4 separate regions of the Homo sapiens genome follow, and all the other regions are linked to region 1. The links are contacts of gene promoters, found by promoter capture Hi-C in blood cells and fetal thymus (Javierre and others, 2016). All regions are on one chromosome and are shown on one strand. The core of a region is centred on a gene start or on the middle of the fragment in contact, and the rest is flanking DNA. Distances in the headings are between cores, read along the strand shown.

Region 1 (2,732 bases), core at 143-2,642:
CAGGCTGAAGATGCACGGGAAAACCACACTAGCCGGTCTGTCAAGGGCTTGAGAATACCATAAACAAGAAAACAGACGAACCAATTTCAGACAGCTGCTAGAAGGAAGATAAAATGAGACAGGCAAGTATGAGAGGCGCGAATTCCTGAGTGGATGACGTAGGTCTCTGAGAGGTGACTTTTGAGCCCGTATCTACATGGTAAGTGCCTCGCAGTGACCTGGGGCCGTAGCGTTACCATTTAAAGCACAGACCATTAAATGCAGAAATTATCAACAAAATGAGAAATAGGAATTTCAAAGTCTCAAAGTGAACGACGGAAACTGAAATCTACAAATTAGAAAAAGGCGCAGAATTTTGAATATTCTTGTCGCCCAATCAGGACAAGGCTGGGACCCGGCTGCGCGGCCTTCGTCCAAAATACACAGAACGGCTGGTATCCACAGGAGGCCCCATCGCACGGCAGAACTGGTGACCGGACACAAAAGCTGCTGCCAAGCGTCAGTCATACAGAGCTGTCACGCAGTGTTTGCGGAACCCGGGCTGAATTGTGTCCTGGAGTTCTCTTAAATGACAGCCGAACTCAGCCACTTCGTTTTAGAATGAAACAGACCCAAGGAGCCACCAGGGCGCGTGTGGGGCGGGAGTGGGGGCGGGTAAAGAGGCGGATTCCCAACAGCCTAATTGAGAACCGACTCCTGGGAAGGCTAAGCAGCACAATGAGTAAAGACACGCTCTAGATTCAAAAGCAAATCCAATGACGCACTGGGGACCTCGAGTTCCAAATAGTTAAAAAGCTACGTATGCCATTTCCCATGACCTTCACACTAAAATAACTTACTTTATGAAAAGAAACTAAGGGAATAAGTGAACAAGCTCTTTTCTAGTGATTAGGTGGGTGGCTCTGAAAAGAGCCTTTGGAGTCAAGCAGCCGGCGACTCGAGCGAGCGAGCGCCAGGTCCCGGCAGGGACTCACTTGGAGCTGGTGTACTTGGTGACCGCCTTGGTGCCCTCGGACACGGCGTGCTTGGCCAGCTCGCCGGGCAGCAGCAGGCGCACGGCCGTCTGGATCTCGCGGGATGTGATGGTGGAGCGCTTGTTGTAGTGCGCCAGGCGGGAAGCCTCTCCCGCGATGCGCTCGAAGATGTCGTTGACGAAGGAGTTCATGATGCCCATGGCCTTGGACGAGATGCCGGTGTCGGGGTGGACCTGCTTCAGCACCTTGTACACGTAGATGGAGTAGCTCTCTTTGCGGCTGCGCTTGCGCTTCTTGCCGTCTTTCTTCTGGGCTTTGGTGACGGCTTTCTTGGAGCCCTTTTTAGGGGCCGGAGCGGATTTTGCCGGTTCAGGCATGGTAAGACACAGTACAAACGCGGCTTAGCCAAGAAAAGAAGTAAGAGAATGGGCGGGCCTGATTCTTTTATAACCACCTTATGCAAATTAGGGCTCCGAAAGTCGTTCATTTCCATTGGTCCGTGTGCGGACCTTGCGTTTTCAGCAATGCGTACGTAACAACACCGACTCTTGACTTGATTGGCCGGTTCTGAAGCCATATTAGGACCAATGAAAAACTCGTTCTTGACCCCACCCCTAGGAAAGCTTATAAAGGCTTTCCTCTTGGTTCTCTTTCAATCTTATTTTGTTGCGAGGTTCTGAGCGTTGTCTGTGTTTAACCTTGATTTCAGTCATGTCTGGTCGTGGCAAACAAGGAGGCAAGGCCCGCGCCAAGGCCAAGTCGCGCTCGTCCCGCGCTGGCCTCCAGTTCCCGGTAGGGCGAGTGCACCGCTTGCTGCGCAAAGGCAACTACGCGGAGCGGGTGGGGGCCGGCGCGCCCGTCTACATGGCGGCGGTCCTCGAGTACCTGACCGCCGAGATCCTGGAGCTGGCGGGCAACGCGGCTCGGGACAACAAGAAGACGCGCATCATCCCTCGTCACCTCCAGCTGGCCATCCGCAACGACGAGGAACTGAACAAGCTGCTGGGCAAAGTCACCATCGCCCAGGGCGGCGTTTTGCCTAACATCCAGGCCGTTCTGTTACCAAAGAAAACCGAAAGCCACAAAGCCAAAAGCAAATAAATGCAGACAAACAAACCAAGACCAAAGGCTCTTTTTAGAGCCACCCAAGTTTTCAAAAAAAGAGCTAATGCGCTATTTCGTGATCAGCCCTTCATTTGACACTTTGGTGGCTCTTAAAAGAGCCTTTGGGGTGAATGAGTATGGTGTCAAGCCTCTTAATTACTTGTTCTTGCCAGGCTTGTGACTCTCCGTTTTCTTGGGCAACAGGACAGCCTGGATATTGGGCAAGACGCCGCCCTGGGCAATGGTGACACCCCCGAGTAACTTGTTGAGCTCTTCGTCATTCCTCACGGCTAGTTGCAGATGGCGAGGGATGATGCGCGTCTTCTTGTTGTCCCGAGCCGCGTTGCCCGCCAGCTCCAGAATTTCCGCGGTCAGGTACTCGAGGACCGCCGCCAGGTACACCGGGGCGCCTGCCCCGACCCGCTCCGCGTAGTTGCCTTTGCGCAGCAAGCGGTGCACTCGCCCCACCGGGAACTGGAGACCAGCGCGGGACGAGCGCGACTTGGCCTTAGCGCGGGCCTTGCCTCCCTGCTTTCCGCGTCCTGACATTACGGCTAAAATTGCAGTTACAGCTTCTTTTACAAGGAGAAGAATGTGGAAAGAATAACCAATTTGATGTAATTTATAAGAGCTACCGGGAGGGGTGAAGGGAAG
Region 2 (2,732 bases), core at 118-2,617, 1.4 Mb after region 1:
GCTCACGTCTGTAGGATTGCTTGAGACCAGCCTGGGCAACATGGCAAAACCCTGTCTCTTCAAAAAATAAAAAAGTTAGCAGGGCGATTTGGCGCTCACTTGTAGTCCCAGCTACTCAGGAGGCTGAGGCGGGAGGATCACTGGAGCCTGGGAGGTTGAGGCTGCAGTCAGCCGTGATCGCGCCACTGTGCTCCCGCCTGGGCAGCAGAGTGAGGCTCTGCCTCAAAAAAATTAATTAAAAAATAAAAACACGCCGTTAACGAGCGGCTGCGTGCGCGAGGTGGCACACTGGGCTTGCATACGAATTCTGCCAGTGAGTGCTATTAGAGCATCAAGGAGATTCATTTTCCGAGCGACTCCTCCCTTTCCCCCGCCTCCAGGGGGCGTGGCAACAAAGCGCGGGAAAACTCGACCTTGACCCCACCCCCACTCCATGCTGGGGGCGGGGAAAAGGGGAGCCCTTAAATGGGAAATGGAGCTGGCGGTTCCCCCCCCAGCCCATACTTAGGACGCCTATCAGTTGCTCCTTTAATGCCTCTTTGGAAATGGCCCGGCCACGCCAGCACTCCTACGTCACCTCCCCCGCTTCCGGTCCGCGAGCCCTTCCCAACCTTTAGGTCCCGATTCCTTCCATGCTCCAAATCCCGTGCCCCGTCCACGCCCTCCCGCAGAGGGAGGAGCGACGGGTTACGCTGTCGCCCAGGAGCTGAACCGCGCGAGGACCCCATCCATCAGATTATATGGCGATTTAGACGGTGGGAAGACCGCAAGGAAATGGTCAGCGGATGACGTAATGTTTGGGGTGGCGTCCCATTCTGTAACTTCTGTACGGCATCAGTGACACGGGTTTAGCTTGAAACAGCGCAAAAGGACCTACACTTCTGTGCTCCACTCCGACTCAATGCGGTTCTGCTCTCAGTGCCCACCACACAGAAGCTGGGTTCCTTACATTCGCGAAAGTGAACTGCAGCTTCAAGCTTCGAGCGGCCAGTAGGGAGCGAGGGGCGGAGACGCACCTGGGTGCTCCCCCTTCCAGTAGGCAAGCTGGGAAGCAGGCTGGCTTCTTTCTAAGCGACAGTGGCGGAGGCCAATCGTTTACGAGACTCGTAGATGGGGCAGACGGACCCCGGCGCAGCCAATGGGGAGAGGTATCTTCAGAGGGCCTCGGCCCCTTGCCCAATGAGCATAAGAGGACTGTGCGGGGCTAGTTCCGAGCGGCAGTATTTAGGGCCAACCCAGTGCGGGGCTGGAAGGGGCACAGGGCTGAGCGACGGGGGCAAGGGCCAATGGCGAGTGCGAAAACGGGCAGCCCAGACCTGGAGCGCGGAGGGAGGAGAGGGAGTGGGGAGGCCGAACCGGAGAGAAGCAGGAAGTAGCGGCGGCCGCGGGGAGGGCGGCGGTGGCTGCAGCGGCTGGAGCGGGGTAGAGACCGCCGGGTCTCGGCCCGCACCAGGAGCGGAACAAGTAAGCGTGCCTGGGGTAAATACCCGCCCTTGGCTCCGCCCCCTTGGGGGGGGCGGGTAAATACCCCCGCCCCTCCCCCACTTGGTCAACTACCCCCTTCTCCGCGCCGCCCCCTGGGGCGGCTTCTAGGAAGGCCCAGACACCGCCTCCATCCATTGGGGCGGATGGGCGAAACTCCTGGCCTGTTGTAAGCACAGTCCGTAGCCGGGTAAACCCCCAGGAGGGTCGAGAACCCCAGGTCCTGGCGCCCCCGGCTCGAGAGGCACCCGAAGTGCGGCCCGGAGATTGAAGGCTGCGGGATGTCGCGACCTAAAATGGTGTCCGTTCCCGGGGATGGGGGCGGGGGACCTGGGCCAGGCCGGAGCAGAACCTGCACCCCGACTGGGTGCGGGTCAGCGTCCGGGCCCGGGCAAGACTCAGGCTTGCGCCCCCGGCCCCCTGCGCACCCCCCGATCAGTCTCCAGTCTCTAGCGAGCCTCCGGGAGTGCGCGGCGGGAGGAGGCTCCGCTGCGCCCGGAGGGGAGGGGACGAGGTCCGAGTTGGGACGGACCCCAGCTAGAGAGCTGAGAGTCGCGCAGAGACCGTCCCCTCTCTCCTCCCCTCTTTCCAGCTCCCCACCCTATCCTGTGTAGTCCTGGGTCCCCAGGTGCTGCGCAGCAGCTCCCAAAGGGCCTGGCCTGGCTGAGGCCCGGCCTTCGCTTCGCACGCCGGTGCGAGTGAGAGAAGGGCCGCGCGCCTCAGTTTCCCTTGTAGTTTCTCATGTGTACACCCCGCCCCCTCCTCGAAACCCAGGACTTGCTCCCCGCGCCAGCCCTCGGCAGATGGCAGGGACTTAATTCCGTCTGCTACCCAGCTTGGCCTCAACCTAATCGCCGCCAGCCCCTCGCCCTCCTCTGCGCTGCAGGCCTTGGGCCCGGGCAAAGGTCAGTGGAGCCCCCACTCGACCTGGGCCTGTTCAGCCTCTTCCTGTTCAGCCTCTTTGGCTTTTGGGGAACCACAGAGGGAAAGGGGGCGGGGGAGATAGGAGCCCTAGAGACAGGGCTCAGCAGTCGCAGGAAGGCCTGATCCTCCTTGGCTTGAGCTTGGCGGCTTGCTTGGTCGACTGTCTGCTCTGGGTGGGTGGCCATCGGATGACCTCTAAGTCACTGGGGCACCCAAGAGGGAGGTGGCTGGCGGGGTGTGGGGGCGGGTGAGTTCGCAGGTGTTTTCTCCTAGTCCCCGCTGGTCTTCGTTGTAGCAGTCCACTTTTCTGAGTACCTGAGTGGAAG
Region 3 (2,732 bases), core at 80-2,579, 1.1 Mb before region 1:
GACTTAACTCTCTCATGCCTCAAAGCAGAATCCTTTGTAAGGTTTATTTATATAGTGGTGTAAAGAGTACTTACTTCAAAAGCTTTGGTCAGTGTGAGAAATAAGCTCCTAACAAAGAAAGTGTTATGTAATAGTTATTATCTGGTACCTCTGATCACATCATTTTTGAAAATCACTTGAAATCTGCCTAAGTTTCATTCTGCCTTTGATGGCTCCTTATTTTCATCTCCCTACTTCAGGCTTCCTCCCTAATATATCTTTTATGCCAATATTATGATCACTTGAAACTATAAATCTGATGCCATCCTTGGCCACTACCATTAAGATGGTCTAAACTCCTCAGCATGATAGACAAGTCCCTTTATGATAGTGTACCCATCTAGTTCTCATTCCTCAAGTCTCCTCTGTTGTCTATGCTTACCCTATGGGCTAAGCTGAATCAAGCTGTTACATTTCCAAAACATGCCTCACTGTCTTTATTCATGCCTTTGCACATGCCATTGACTCTTCCTAGAATGCCCCATTCTCCTTCTCTAGAAAGTCTTCTCTTAACATACTTCTTCCCAAAATAAATTAGGTGTCCTTTCTTAATATGCCTCCAATAACCCCATACAGTATTTATCCCATTCTATTTTAGATGCCAGTTTGGTTGATGATACATTTCATCTAGTCAGATCTTCCCACTGCCTCTTATAAAGAAAACCAGGAGCCATATTATGATATTCTTGTTCTCTAATTTTTCTGCTGCCCTGATCTTAAACCACTTTCTTCTCCCTTTGTTGACAATTACCCCACCCCTTATTTCTTAATTAGCTCAACAAGATTAGATAGAAATGTATCTACAAAGGATATATGTATATAAATTAACTAGATAACAAAACTTCACACTGAAGTGAACATTCTACAAGTATTTCTTTCATTGCTGACCATTAGGTTGCAGCATGCAACTCTCAACAATGAGCTGCCCCTCTCCACTCCTATAGAAGCTCCAAATACTATGGTACCACTATGTAGGTTTTCAGCCTTTCAAAGGCTTTTATTATGAACTTCATCATTACTTCAGCAGGAGCCTTTTAGGGACTTAAAAGCACTGATTATCTATAAAAAGTAACTTCATATTTCATGCACAAAATTCCCAATTGGCAGATTTAGGTCCATAAAAGAAAGGAAAAAAATTATTCTAGCTATATAAATTATCAGGAATAAAATAGCATTTCTCCTTGCCTTGTTATAAGGAAATAATATATTTTTCCTTACCAGGAATCAGGATAGTATCTTTGATGATCCCTCAGGGTTATAAAATTGCTTACTGGTTAAAGTTTTTTGCCAAAGATATTAAGAAATAAAAAGTTCGCTCATTTTCCTGTGCAATTTAAAGAAATATTTGCAGTATGTACAGGAATTTTAAGTTATATTGCAGACCCTGGCAATAATATTTAAAAGGCCTATTTTCCCCATTAAAAAATTTACCCCATTAAAAAAGGTAAAAGGAAATCTCCATCATCCCTGAGCAGAAAAGGAAAAAATCATGGGTACTTTAATTAGTTAATAGAAACCACTGTAAATGAGTTATCTATCTCCAGAACATTCTCAGAGAATTTACACGAACTAAAACAGGAATGAAGTGCTCTCAGAGACTTTTTCTCAGGTAAATGTATTTAGTAGTTTGAGTAGTTGATCTGCAGAAACTTTAACTTTAATTAACTACATAGATGAATATTTTTTATTTTGAAATTTGAGAATGTCCTAAGAGGATGTCTACAGGATATGAAACTACTGGGTGCAGGAAAATTTTTTAAGTGTTAGCAAATTGTGGCAAGAGGAAAACAAACAGCGGAGAAAACTGTGGTAGAGAAAGTAAAGAAGGGGCAGGAGAAAGCTGTAATTATAACCTGGGCCTGCCTTTGTTCTCATGAAGCCAGGGGCCTCTCCATATCCTATACTTGCTCTTACACTAATAACAAACCAAATGCTGCAAAATAAAAGTAATAATGACCCAAACTAATTTAAGTCTTTTGTTTAAGGAGTAAATGAGAGAAACATTTTAGCTTCTTAATCAAGGAGTGCTATAATTTCAAGGCATCTTAATATAATTCACTTACCCTAAAGCAATTGTGCAATAAGCAAATTATAAAAGGAAAACAACAAAGGTTAACTTTCTACAGGGGCCAATAGACAAGATCTGTGGAGCACAGCAATTAACCTTCACATACTGGAGTCTTGTTTAAAAGGCCATCAAAAACTCAGATTACTGAAAATCACAAATGTCACCAACAAAAGGAATGTTGATTAGAGTCAAAAAAAAACAAAAAAACAAAAAAACAAAAAAAAAAAAACACCTTCCCAAAGGACTGCCTTCTTTGAAGGAATTTCAGAATGTTGCTAGCACAGGTTGACTAAGTTAAATCTCATTGATGGCTCCATCAGAGAATGAGAATGCCCAGCCAGTGCTGTTTTTAAAATGCACTGGGAGGGAAAAAACGAAATAACAATCTACTATTCCCTAATATATATGGCTTGGCACCCAGAGAAAGCCTCTGCCCCCGAAAGAGACTTTCTACATAGGGTTAAGCTTCATTAAATGAGGTGCAACCTTTCATTTTCAGGACATCTCTTTTCTTGCAAGGTCTTTAGAGGCAGAAGTTCCACTTGGATTCTAATACACATCTCTGTGAGCTCAGTTTCCTGAAAATATACACCTACTGGGTTCTAGGTTCTCCCTTACCAGTGAC
Region 4 (2,732 bases), core at 68-2,567, 1.1 Mb after region 1:
AGAAAGAAGGATAAGAGGTGGAGAAAGAAATGTTAAATCTACGCTAATGGTTATTAATATGATGATCTTTAGCTTACTCTAATAGGCATCACATCAGTAACCCCCTCATAGCCATGACAGAGATAATTCCTCTGCCCTACCCCACACCCTGCCCCTTCACACAACATACTAAGAATACACAGTGCTTGTATGTTTAGGGATACCTTCTCTCTGCCTCACCCAAGGATAAAAAGATTAAGTCACATAGTACTTGGGGTGAAGAATGGAGGAGGCACAGAGAGTCAGTTTCATGCCCCTAAAGGTGAAATGCTGGTGAGGAAGGGGAAGTCTTCCACCTCAAAGGGCTCTACTGAACCTTACACAATCCCAAACCACAGTATAAAGGCCTTGGGAGGGGTTTCCTGTAAGCTGGGAGGGGAAATGTAGGTGGTGGGGGCTGGAATCAGAGACTGGTTTTGATAAATAACTTCAGATTAGGGGCACAAAAAGCACTCCCCACAAGTTCTTCCAGTAAGCTTCTCTTTAAAAAAAATTAATAAAGATATCAAATTTCTTTTAATTAAACTGAGACAGGGTCTTGCTTTGTTGCCTAGGCTGGTCTTAACTCCTGGGGGCCCAAGCAATCCGCCCTCCTCAGCCTGCCAAAGGACTGGGATTACAGGCATGAGCCACGGTGCCTGGACCCAGTAAGCATCTCTTGACAGCTAGCATTGAGACAGCAACTTTTCCTCAGTTCATTTTTTTTCCCCAGAAACTACCTAAACCCAGAGGTACTCTCTTGCCTGCTATTTCTATGAAATATGAAAATGCTGATTATTAATTTACATAACAATACTTCCTGTACATTCACCTACCTAAAGTTTTATGTCTATTCCCATCCAAGTGGTTTTATTTATTTATTTTTATTTTTTTGAGACAGAGTTTTGCTCTTGTTGCCTAGGTTGGAGTGCAATGGTGCGACCTCGGCTCACTGCAACCTCTGCCTCCTGGGTTCAAGTGATTCTCCTGCCTCAGCCTCCCGAGTAGCTGGGATTACAGGCATGCAACACCATGCCCAGCTAATTTTGTATTTTTTAGTAGAGATGGAGTTTCTCCATGTTGGTCAGGCTGGTCTTGAACTTCCGACCTCAGGTGATCCTCCCACCTTGGCCTCCCAAAGTGCTGGGATTACAGGCATGAGCCACCGTGCCCAGTCCTCTCCAGGTCATTTTAGATGTGAACACCGGACCTGTTTAACCTGTTCTCTATCAGCACTGGAGGCACATTGAGGCAAGCACAGATAGACATTTAACTAATACTGTGGGTATAAATAATAAAAAACCACAAATCCTGCCCTTTGGAAAACATCTCCCTTCAATCTCCTTGCTCCCCTCCCACTCTTTATCAGGGAGAGAAACAGGGAGAAATTAAACTAGTTAGGGGCCAGGCGCGGTGGCTCACGCCTGTAATCCCAGCACTTTGAGAGGCTGAGGCGGGCAGATTACTTGAGGTCAGGAGATCGAGACCATCCTGGCTAACATGGCAAAACGCTGTCTGTATTGAAAGTACAAAAATTAGCCAGGTGTGTTGGCACGTGCCTGTAGTCACAGCTGCTCGGGAGGCTGAGGTGGGAGAATTGCTTGAACCTGGGAGGCAGGGGGTTGCAGTGAGCTGAGATGGTGACACTGCACTACAGCCTGGGTGACAGAGCGAAACTCCATCTCAAAAATAAAATAAAATAAAATAAAATAAAATAAAATAAAATAAAATAAAATAAAATAAATTAAACTAGTTAGAAATCTTGTCTTTTCTCCACCCTCCTCCCAGCCTGAGACTGCTTCCTTCTTGTAAACCTACAGGAATTTGGGGCTAGGGGAAGGCCTGGGAGATGAGGTTGAGGAACATTAAAGTTACTGAAACAAAATAAGCCTAGTCACTCAAATTGATTATCCTCTTGATTCACATATGTTTATGCTAGCTGCATATCATTTACGTGTTGTTAATTTAGAATCAGAGTAGCAAAAATTGCCTGCAGGCCTTATGCTTTTTTTTCTCTCTCTTTCTCTCTCTCCTTTCCTTCTCCCCTTAAATGACACTTAGGGTGAACCTCAAAGCAGATGCCAGAGCCTGGAAAAGTGAAAAAGCTTGAAGAAAAGCAGGCCTTGGCCGGGCACAGTGCCTCACACCTGTATCCCAGCACTTTGAGAGGCCGAGGCGGGCGGATCACCTGAGGTCAGGAGCTCAAGATCGGCCTGGCTAACATGGCGAAACCCCATCTCTACTAAAAATACAAAAATTAGCCGGGCACGGTGGCGGGCACCTGTAATCCCAGCTACTCAGGAGGCTGAGGCAGGAGAATTGCTTGAACCCCGGAGGTGGAGGTTGCAGTAAGCCAAGATTGTGCCTCTGCACTCCAGCCTGGGTGACAAGAGTGAGACTCTTGCCTCCAAAAAAAAAAAGAAAAAAAGAAAAAAAAAAAAGAAAAGCAGGCCTTATTTTTTATATTTTCTCTCCAGTGCCAGAAATGATCAATGATGAAGTGGGGGTTGGGCAGCTAGCTGGCTGGAGAGGTGAGCCAAAGGAACCCAGGAGTGGACACCTGAGGGAGTGGGGTCTCAGAGGAACTGGGCAGAGCTAAATGGGCTAAGTCTTAAGAGGCAGGGGCAGGAAATGTAATGGAGGCTTTCTACTCTACAACGTCCAATCCTGCTGGGGAGGGCATGGAGTATTTCAGAGTAGGAAAGAATGAGGGA

The links. Contacts are between HindIII fragments. The CHiCAGO score rates a contact against its expected background, and 5 or more counts as called.
Region 2: a contact is called between the fragment with the promoter of ZNF687 here and the fragment with the promoter of H2BC21 in region 1, in 1 of 17 cell types (fetal thymus). The highest score is 5.8, in fetal thymus.
Region 3: a fragment that was not itself captured here is called in contact with the fragment with the promoter of H2BC21 in region 1 in 7 of 17 cell types (M1 macrophages, monocytes, neutrophils and 4 more); the score reaches 16.8 in M1 macrophages.
Region 4: a contact is called between a fragment that was not itself captured here and the fragment with the promoter of H2BC21 in region 1, in 1 of 17 cell types (non-activated CD4 T cells). The highest score is 5.6, in non-activated CD4 T cells.

What each region holds. Positions count from the first base shown.
Region 1 is chr1:149,885,290-149,888,021 of GRCh38, forward strand. It overlaps H2BC21 (H2B clustered histone 21), which reads right to left and starts at 1,393. Exons shown (of 1, transcript NM_003528.3): 1 at 1-1,393. The coding sequence starts at 1,351. The coding sequence ends at 971. H2AC20 (H2A clustered histone 20) reads left to right here and starts at 1,629. Exons shown (of 1, transcript NM_003517.3): 1 at 1,629-2,122. The coding sequence starts at 1,686. The coding sequence ends at 2,075. It overlaps H2AC21 (H2A clustered histone 21), which reads right to left and starts at 2,676. Exons shown (of 1, transcript NM_175065.3): 1 at 2,180-2,676. The coding sequence starts at 2,627. The coding sequence ends at 2,235. RefSeq lists enhancers at 1-589, 367-446, 857-946, 1,017-1,306, 1,627-1,696 and 3 more. The HindIII fragment of the contact is 10,069 bases long and covers 1-1,595 here.
Region 2 is chr1:151,280,932-151,283,663 of GRCh38, forward strand. It overlaps ZNF687 (zinc finger protein 687), which reads left to right and starts at 1,368. Exons shown (of 9, transcript NM_020832.3): 1 at 1,368-1,464. ZNF687-AS1 (ZNF687 antisense RNA 1) reads right to left here and starts at 998. Exons shown (of 2, transcript NR_135595.1): 1 at 612-998. RefSeq lists silencers at 248-588, 1,270-1,549, 1,830-1,989 and enhancers at 331-1,215, 710-909, 940-1,169, 1,216-2,101, 2,410-2,479. The HindIII fragment of the contact is 14,019 bases long and covers 976-2,732 here.
Region 3 is chr1:148,769,895-148,772,626 of GRCh38, forward strand. It overlaps the pseudogene SEC22B3P. Among named protein-coding and RNA genes, the nearest start is that of NUDT4B, 22 kb to the left of the region's middle. RefSeq lists enhancers at 1,905-2,464, 2,465-2,732. The HindIII fragment of the contact is 2,490 bases long and covers 85-2,574 here.
Region 4 is chr1:151,003,028-151,005,759 of GRCh38, forward strand. The region is part of intron 1 of MINDY1 (MINDY lysine 48 deubiquitinase 1); the gene reads right to left. Among named protein-coding and RNA genes, the nearest start is that of MINDY1, 2.5 kb to the right of the region's middle. The HindIII fragment of the contact is 1,608 bases long and covers 514-2,121 here.